2 separate regions of the Homo sapiens genome follow, and region 2 is linked to region 1. The links are contacts of gene promoters, found by promoter capture Hi-C in human tissues and cell types (Jung and others, 2019). All regions are on one chromosome and are shown on one strand. The core of a region is centred on a gene start or on the middle of the fragment in contact, and the rest is flanking DNA. Distances in the headings are between cores, read along the strand shown.

Region 1 (4,355 bases), core at 702-3,201:
TGATGCTGGTACCACTTTCCTCGGATGACATGTGGCCGGGTAAGGCCGGGGTTCCTGAGGAGGAGGGGACTTATTGTAGGCACAGCCCTCTCCGCTCAGGGCAGCTGAGTGGCCTGCGAGCTCAGACAGGACTGCAGGGACCGTGTTCATCCCCCACCCACCGTGCACCTTTCACAGCATCCTGCGCAGCCCGGGAACCTGACTGACAGGCGGCAGTGAGTGCCTGTGACCTGTGCATCACCTCACCTGAGGAACTGGGTGAGGAAGGAGGAGAGGCTATGAGGGTCAGAGATAGGTCCTGCAGAGCCGGGTCTGGTGGGGGCAGCTCAGGGCCTGGGGGGTTCAGGAAGTCTTATCAGCACTGTGGACCTGGGCCCCAGGTATCCCCCCAACCTCTCCAGTCCCCCTTACCCTGTGTCCTCTGACAGGGGCCTAGAGAGCTCAGAATTAGCTGGTCATTCTCAGAGATGCACAGCATTGAGCTGGGGACAGTGTACACAGCTTCTCCCTGTGGGACATGAACTCTGTAGGACAGGCCCGTTTACTCTCATGTCCTGTGGGATATGACCCTTGCCCAACTCCTCACCCTGACATCTCCCAAGCAAATCCCCAGACTGACCGTGGCCTTGCATCGTGAGGCAGCCCAGTGGGTGACAGGGGGTGCTGTGCAAGGGCCCTCCAGTGTCAGGCAGCTTTCAGCCAGGCACACGAGTGCCCCCTGATGCTCCTGGTCCTCCCGCATTTCATCCAGAAGCTGGGACAGTGATAGGCCTGGGGACAGGGGACCATGGGATGAGTCAAGGCTTAAAGGGGAGGACCAGGAGGGTGAGGGGGAAGACAGCTTATTGAGGAAGCATAAGGTTAAGGCTGGAGAGATCACTGCACAGCGTGTTAGGATCACTGGTCAAGCTCTACAGTACCTGCATTGGACGAGGTGGACTCTGAAAGGTGCTCCCTACAGGAAGAGAGTGGCCAGGACTCAGGAACCATGCTGAGGCCTGTCTACCTAGATACACCATCCCCTCACCAAACAACACGTGGCCCCCGAGCCCAACCCCAGACTCACTCAAGGCAGTCATAGAGCTTTTTCTGAACATCTAAGTCTTGGTTGCTAAGAAAAAGAGAAGGGTAGTTAATGGGGGCCCAAGCCCTCCTACCCCATAGGCGTCTGCCAGCGCCGGCCAGGCTGGGGTGGGGAGAGCTGCTGGAGGGCGGAGGCATCACTTACCAACCAGGCACCCGTAGCCGGGGCTGCTCCGTGGGCAGCAGGCTGAAGCGGTCCACCTGGAGATAGAACTCTGCGGGCTGGAGGAGTTCGGGGGGAAGGGGGGGTCTCAGAATCGTCACGAAGAGTCATGCCCGGTAACCCGCCCAAGGCAGTCTCACCACTCACCGCGCCGCCCTCAGCGACCTGGACATGAACCCCGCAGTCCTGCAGCAGCAGCAGCCGGCCCTCTGTCCCGCGGAAGCCGAACTCCTTCTCCTCCCTGCAACAAGCAGGATCCTCACTGCCGGGCCCACCTGAACACAAGGCCCGCCCACCTCGCGCTCTCCTGCCGGACTCCGACCTCCAGAGCCGCGCGGGGCCTCTCACCAGTCCGAGGTGTCCAGGGCCTCCCGCGTCACCAGGCATCGGACACTGTGGGTCCCGTCAGACACAAGCAGCGTGGCCCCGACGTCGGACGTATCAGGGGCGTGGGATGGGCCCGCGACCGCGGCCTCGGCGTCCTGTAGTACCTGACGGCGGCGAGCGGCGTCAATCCCACCACCCCGGGCCTCCGCCTCGGTCTCCGGGCCCTGAATGGGGGCTCACCTCAAGCAGCTGCCCGGCTCGTGGACTGGAGGGTGTCTCTGACCCCAGAATCAGCTCCCGAATCCAGGGCCGTAGGACCAGCCTCCCCGAACCTGCCATCCCCACGGCTACACCCAGCGGATGCAACGGGCCCGGGTTTCCCGCGGGCGCCCAGGCCCCGCCTTTCCTCGGAAGAGGAAGCTCCTTCGCTGGGCGGGGCCGGAGGAGGAGGCCCCGCCCACGTACACCCCGCGCCTGCGCACGAGGGCGTCCTGCTCGGGGGCCTGTGTGCAGACTCCCGCTGGTCCACCCCGCTGGTGCACGGGATGCTGGCCCGTTTACTCTCATCGCGGCGTCACTCTGACAGCGGCCAGGCATTTGGGCCGTTCGTCAAGATTCCTGTGGTACCGGTAGGGAACAGAACAAGGGCTGGTCCCGTCCCTGGAGAGGGTTCCAGGGCCGGAGGCTGAGGCCGAGTGCCGTCCGAGCGAGTTGACTCGAAACCATTTCAGCACCGTGTGACCCCCGAACGGTTCAGCACATATTTATTATGACTCAGTTTCCTCATCTACACAGTGCACGGTCTTGTAAGGCCAGTGGAAATAAGAGCACACACACAGCGCTAAATAAATGGTACTTCCTTCGCCCTCCCCTCGGATTGGCGGAGCCCTGCTCCCCAGACTCCGGGGGCGCGCGGACCTCAGCGTGATGACGCAAGAGCGGAGGACGGCTCCTCTCCATCCACGGCTCCGTTTCCTAGGAAACGTGGACTCCGCGTTCCACTCTGCGTCGCTGCCCCCTTGACGTCACGCTCCGGATGGGAAGGCGGGGCGTGTGCTACCGCCAGGGGCGGGGCGGCGCGGGCGGGCCGGCCGGGCTGTGCACCTGCGCCTCGGCGGGCCGCCTGGGGCACCGTCCCCGGCCCGCCCGGCCCCGCCATGGCCCGGCCGCAGAGGACTCCGGCGCGCAGTCCCGATAGCATCGTCGAGGTGAAGAGCAAAGTAAGGGCTCCTCCGGCCTCGGCCCTAGGCGCTCCCAATTCCCTCTTTCTCCCCTTCCCAGCTCCTTGGTCCCCGCCACCTCTTCCCTCTATCCTCCAAGTCCCATTCTGCTTTTCTGCTCGCCTTCCCCCATCCGTCTTCCTTCCTCCACTGCTGGTCTCCAGCTCTCTGTGGCCTGAGTACCTGGAGGGCGGTAAGAAGACCTTGGACAGCGTCCCTGGTACTGGAGCTGAGGTCTGGGCTTAAGGCTGCCGCAAAAGCGGCAGCCGCATCTTTCCCATTCCTGCCAGCCTGCGGTGAGAAAGGGGCGCAGGCTGTCCTGACTCCTCCTCTCCCCCAACCCCGACTTCCAGTTTGACGCCGAGTTCCGACGCTTCGCGCTGCCTCGCGCTTCGGTGAGCGGCTTCCAGGAGTTCTCGCGGTTGCTGCGGGCGGTGCACCAGATCCCGGGCCTGGACGTGCTACTTGGCTATACGGATGCTCATGGCGACCTGCTGCCCCTCACCAACGACGACAGCCTGCACCGGGCCCTGGCCAGCGGGCCCCCGCCACTGCGCCTACTGGTGCAGAAGCGGGGTGAGGAGGGGTACAGTGGGCAGCCTCTGTGGGGTAAGGTGTCTGTGGGGCAGGTCTACAAGGGTTAGTCCATGCCCAGGGTACCCAAGCGTCACCCTCTGCAGTCCCTGCCCTTGGCTTGACCTCTAAGTGGTAGGAAATAGCTACAGTGCCCCCTGTAAACAGCCCAAGTCGGGGAGCAGGTCTCTGATCTCAACATCCCCCCTCTTCTGCAGCAGAAGCTGACTCCAGCGGCCTGGCTTTTGCCTCCAACTCTCTGCAGCGGCGCAAGAAAGGGCTCTTGCTGCGGCCAGTGGCACCCCTGCGCACCCGGCCACCCTTGCTAATCAGCCTGCCCCAAGATTTCCGCCAGGTTTCCTCAGTCATAGACGTGGACCTACTGCCTGAGACCCACCGACGGGTGCGGCTGCACAAGCATGGTTCAGACCGCCCCCTGGGCTTCTACATCCGAGATGGCATGAGCGTGCGTGTGGCTCCCCAGGGCCTGGAGCGGGTTCCAGGAATCTTCATCTCCCGCCTGGTACGTGGGGGTCTGGCTGAGAGTACAGGGCTGCTGGCGGTCAGTGATGAGATCCTCGAGGTCAATGGCATTGAAGTAGCCGGGAAGACCTTGGACCAAGTGACGGACATGATGGTTGCCAACAGCCATAACCTCATTGTCACTGTCAAGCCCGCCAACCAGCGCAATAACGTGGTGCGAGGGGCATCTGGGCGTTTGACAGGTCCTCCCTCTGCAGGGCCTGGGCCTGCTGAGCCTGATAGTGACGATGACAGCAGTGACCTGGTCATTGAGAACCGCCAGCCTCCCAGTTCCAATGGGCTGTCTCAGGGGCCCCCGTGCTGGGACCTGCACCCTGGCTGCCGACATCCTGGTACCCGCAGCTCTCTGCCCTCCCTGGATGACCAGGAGCAGGCCAGTTCTGGCTGGGGGAGTCGCATTCGAGGAGATGGTAGTGGCTTCAGCCTCTGACAGTCAGGATGAAGCC
Region 2 (4,355 bases), core at 676-3,175, 330 kb before region 1:
AATAAAATAAAATAAGAATCCGTATATGGTCCATATATTGCAATTGGTTGATGTATGTCTTAAGTCTTATTTGATCTGTAGGCTCCCCATTTTTTTTCCCTCGCATTTTCAATTGTTTTTGAAGAAACTGGCTTTGAAAGAGTTTACTATAACCTGAACTTTGCTCATTGCATTCCTAAGATGTTAAACATTTTCCCGTGTTCCCTGTACTTCCTATGAATTGGTAGTTAGATGAGGCTTAATCAGATTCAGGTTGGATTTTTTTTTTTTCACAAGACGATTTCATAGGTAATGGTGTATGTTTATGTTAGGAAGTATATGGTGCCTAGTGTTCTTTCTTTTCGTGATATCAGCCACTGAATATGATTACCTAAGTTAATTCATTAGGGATTGCAAAATGGTAATTGTCTATTTCTTTCATTTTTCTTCATTAACTGTAATACTTCTATAAAGAGAAATTTCCTCACATCAACTGTTTGCTTATCCTGAGGTACAGTTTGTATAGGAAAGGCAGCATAAAAGCTTGATTTGTTTTCACCTTATATGCCAGCTTTCAGAATGATGAGTTATTTTCTTAGCATTCTCCAAAGGTGACCAGTGAGGACTGTTTTGCTTTCTCAGTATCATTATAAACTCATCGATTTAAATATATGTCTTAGGGCTGGGCATGGTCGTTCACGCCTGTAATCCCAGCATTTTGGGAGGCCAAGGAGGATGGATCACCTGAGGTCAGGAGTTCAAGACCAGTCTGTCCAACATGGTGAAACCTCATCTGTACTAAAAATACAAAAAAAATTAGCCCGGCATGGTGGCAGGTGCCTATAATCCCAGCTACTCAGGAGGCTGAGGCAGGAGAATCACTTGAGCCTGGGAAGCAGAGGTTGCAGTGAACTGAGATCGCACCACTGCACTTCAGCCTGGACGAAAGACTGAGACTCAGTCTAAATAAATAAATAAATAAATAAATGTCTTAGTCCCTTTTCTCTTGTCATAACAGAATACCATAGACTAGGTAATTTATAAAGAACAGAAGTTGATTTGGCTCATGGTTCTGGAGGCTGAGAAGTCCAAGAGCATGGTGCCAACATCTGGTGAGGGTCATTCCATGGTGGAAGGGCAGAAGGTGCATGTGTGAGATGTGAGAGAGAAAGAGAGAGAGAGAGAGAGAGAGAGAGAGAGAGAGAGAGAGAGAGAAGACTGAACTAATTCCTTTATTAGGATAGCTAACTCCCGTGATAACTAACTCCATGATAACAGCATGAAGCCACCGTTGACCTAATCACCTCTTAGAGGCCCCACCTCGCAGTGCTGTTACATTGGCAATTACGTTTCAACATGAAAGCTGGGCATGGCGGCTTACACACTTTGGAAGGCCAGGGAGGAGGATGAGGCCAGGTATTTGAGACCAGCCTGGGCAACACAGCAAGATCCTGTCTCTACAAAAAATTTAAAAATTAACTGGGTGTTGGTGGTGTGTACCTGTAGTCCCAGCTACTCAGGAGGCTGAAGTGGAAGGATCCTCTGACCCCAGGAGTTTTAGGCTGCAGTGCACTATGATAGTGCTACTGCCCTCCAGCCTAGTTGACAGAGCAAGGCCCTATCTCTGAATAAATTAATACATTTCATCATGAGTTTTGGAGGGGACGTTCAAACCATAGCAATATATTTCAATGTAAGTTTTAATCCATTATAGTTCTTATCATAATTGATGTTCAGTTTATCCTAACTTTAGTTAATAGGTGATCTTTCAAGTTGACTCCTGAGGTCTTTTTAAAAAAGTTTTATGGCCAGGTGTAGTGGCTCACGCCTGTAATCCCAGCACTTTGGGAAGCCGAGGGGGGTGGATCACCTGAGGTTGGGAGTTTGAGACCAGCCTGGCCAGCATGTTGAAACCCCATCTCTACTAAAAATATAAAAATTAGCTGGGCGGGGTGGCACATGCCTGTAATCCCAGCTACTTGGGAGGCTGAGGCAGGAGAATCGCTTGAACCCTGAAGGCGGAGGTTGCAGTAAGCCAAGATCACACCATTGCACTCCAGCCTGGGCAAAGAGAGCGAAACTCCATCTCAAAAAAAAAAAGAAAAAGAAAAAGTTTTATTTATTAGAAACATTCATTGTCATTATAAATAAGCTTTGTTAAAGGTTGTTAATTCAATTTCCAAATGAGCTGTAAATGGTTTTCATTAGAGAGACTACTTGATTTGTTATTTTCAAATAGCAAATTTTTGCCCACTGGGGTTATGTAACCCATATATTAAAATTGGAAGATCATTCTTTTATTCTTGGCATCTATGCTGTGCAGTGTTTGATTTGTTCTCTGATTTGTCTTCACTCTTTATAAACACTGAAACGGCCAGGCGCGGTGGCTTACGCCTGTAATCCCAGCACTTTGGGAGGCTGAGGAGGGCGAATCACGAGGTCAGGAGATCGAGACAACCCTGGCTAACATGATGAAACCCTGTCTCTACTAAAAATACAAAAAAATTAGCTGGGCATGGTGGTGGGCGCCTGTAGTCCTAGCTACTTGGGAGGCTGAGACAGGAGAATGGCGTGAACCTGGGAGGCAGAGCTTGCAGTGTGCCAAGATGGTGCCATTGCACTCCAGCCTGGGTGACAGAGCGAGACTCCGTCTCAAAAAAAAATAATAAATAAATAAATAAACACTGAAACGAAATGCATAACCTCTTAAGACATGCATTCATGTGAATCATTAAAGAATGTTTGTCTTTGTGGCAGTTTATCATTTTAATAATTCACATTCCTTCTTAAAATGTTAAAATGTCTGCTCTTCAAAATAGACTGCAGTGAAAGGCATGAGAAATGCTGTGGGTCATTGATGGAAACCATAATTGTCCTTAGCTTTTGTCCCATGTTAACAGACTCTCAGGGTGTTAGATCATAACATACCACAGAATTACCAATACACTGCCCTCAAAGTCAGGAAAATTTTATTTATTTATTTATTTTATTTATTTATTTTTTTTTAAAAAAAACATGGTCTTATTCTGTTGCCCAAGCTGGAGTGCAGTGGCATGATCATGGCTCACTGCAGTCCCGACCTCCTGGGCTCAAGCAATCCTCCTGACTCTGCCTACTGAGTAGCTGGGACTACAGGTGTGCACCACCATGCCCAGCTAATTTTTTCTTTTTTTGTAGAGATGGGTGCATTTTAAAAAGATATAATTCACATACTATAAAGTTCACCGTTTTAGTATTTATTTATTTATTTTGAGATAAGAATCTTGCCCTATTGCCCAGGCTGCAGTGCAGTGGCCCGACCTCAGCTCACTGCAACCTCTATCCCAGGTTCAAGTGATTCTCCTGCCTCAGCATCCTGAGTAGGTGGGACTGCAGGCACGTCCCACCATACCCTGCTAATTTTTGTGTTTTTAGTAGAGACAGGGTTTCACCATGTTGGCCAGGCTGGTCTTGAACTCCTGACTTCAAGTGATCCACCTGCCTCCGCCTCCCAAAGTGCTGAAATTACAGGCATGAGCCACCACACGTAGCCCCATTTAAAAAATATACAATTCAGGGTCATTTTGTACATTTACAATGTTGTGCAAGCATCATTGCTACCTATATATAGTTCCAGAACATTTTCATCAACCCATTAGGCAGTCACACCTCATTTCCCACTACCCCTGGCTCCTGGCAACCAGTAAACTGCTTTCTGTCTCTGTGGATTTGCCTCTTCTGGGTATTTCATATCATTGGAATCATATAATATGTAGCCTTTTCTGTCTGGCTTCTTTGACTTAGCATAGTATTTTCATTATTCATTCATGTTTTAGCATGTATTAATACTTCATTCCTTTTTTAAAAAAATTAATAGACTTTATTTTTTAGAGCAGTTTTAGGTTTACAGAGAAATTGGGCATAAAGTACAGAGAGTTCTCATATACGCTTACCTTCCTTGCACCTCTCCCCACCCACCCCGTTTCCCTTAATTTTAATATCTTGCATTATTGTGATATATTACAATTTATGAACCAATATTGATGCGATTATTAACTAAAGTCCATAGTTTACATTAGAGCTCATTTTTTGTGTTGTACAGTTCTATGGTTTTTGACAATTATGTCGTGTCCACCATTATTATTATTATTTTTATTTATTTATTTTTTTGAGATGGAGTCTCACTCTGTTGCCCAGGCTGGAGTGCAGTGGCGTGGATCTCGGCTCACCGCAAGCTCTGTCTCCCAGATTCACACCATTCTCCTGCCTCAGCCTCCCGAGTAGCTGGGACTACAGGTGCCTGCCACTGTGCCCGGCTAATTTTTCATATTTTTAGTAGAGACCGGGTTTCACCATGGTCTCGATCTCCTGACCTCGTGATCCGCCCGCCTCGGCTT

The links. Contacts are between HindIII fragments. The study calls those that stand out against the background at their distance.
Region 2: a fragment that was not itself captured here is called in contact with the fragment with the promoter of ACD in region 1 in 2 of the 25 tissues and cell types used here (lymphoblastoid cells and mesendoderm cells).

The regions. Positions count from the first base shown.
Region 1 is chr16:67,658,309-67,662,663 of GRCh38, forward strand. ACD (ACD shelterin complex subunit and telomerase recruitment factor) reads right to left here and starts at 1,952. Exons shown (of 12, transcript NM_001082486.2): 1 at 1,814-1,952; 2 at 1,595-1,737; 3 at 1,394-1,487; 4 at 1,229-1,305; 5 at 1,067-1,111; 6 at 921-955; 7 at 620-771; 8 at 412-508; 9 at 247-333; 10 at 1-54. The coding sequence starts at 1,912. It overlaps PARD6A (par-6 family cell polarity regulator alpha), which reads left to right and starts at 2,652. Exons shown (of 3, transcript NM_001037281.2): 1 at 2,652-2,793; 2 at 3,147-3,369; 3 at 3,588-4,355. The coding sequence starts at 2,731. The coding sequence ends at 4,339. RefSeq lists an enhancer at 1,282-1,865 and silencers at 2,019-2,128, 2,439-2,918. The HindIII fragment of the contact is 13,160 bases long and covers 1-4,355 here.
Region 2 is chr16:67,329,921-67,334,275 of GRCh38, forward strand. The region is part of intron 1 of LRRC36 (leucine rich repeat containing 36); the gene reads left to right. Among named protein-coding and RNA genes, the nearest start is that of LRRC36, 5.3 kb to the left of the region's middle. The HindIII fragment of the contact is 7,189 bases long and covers 1-4,355 here.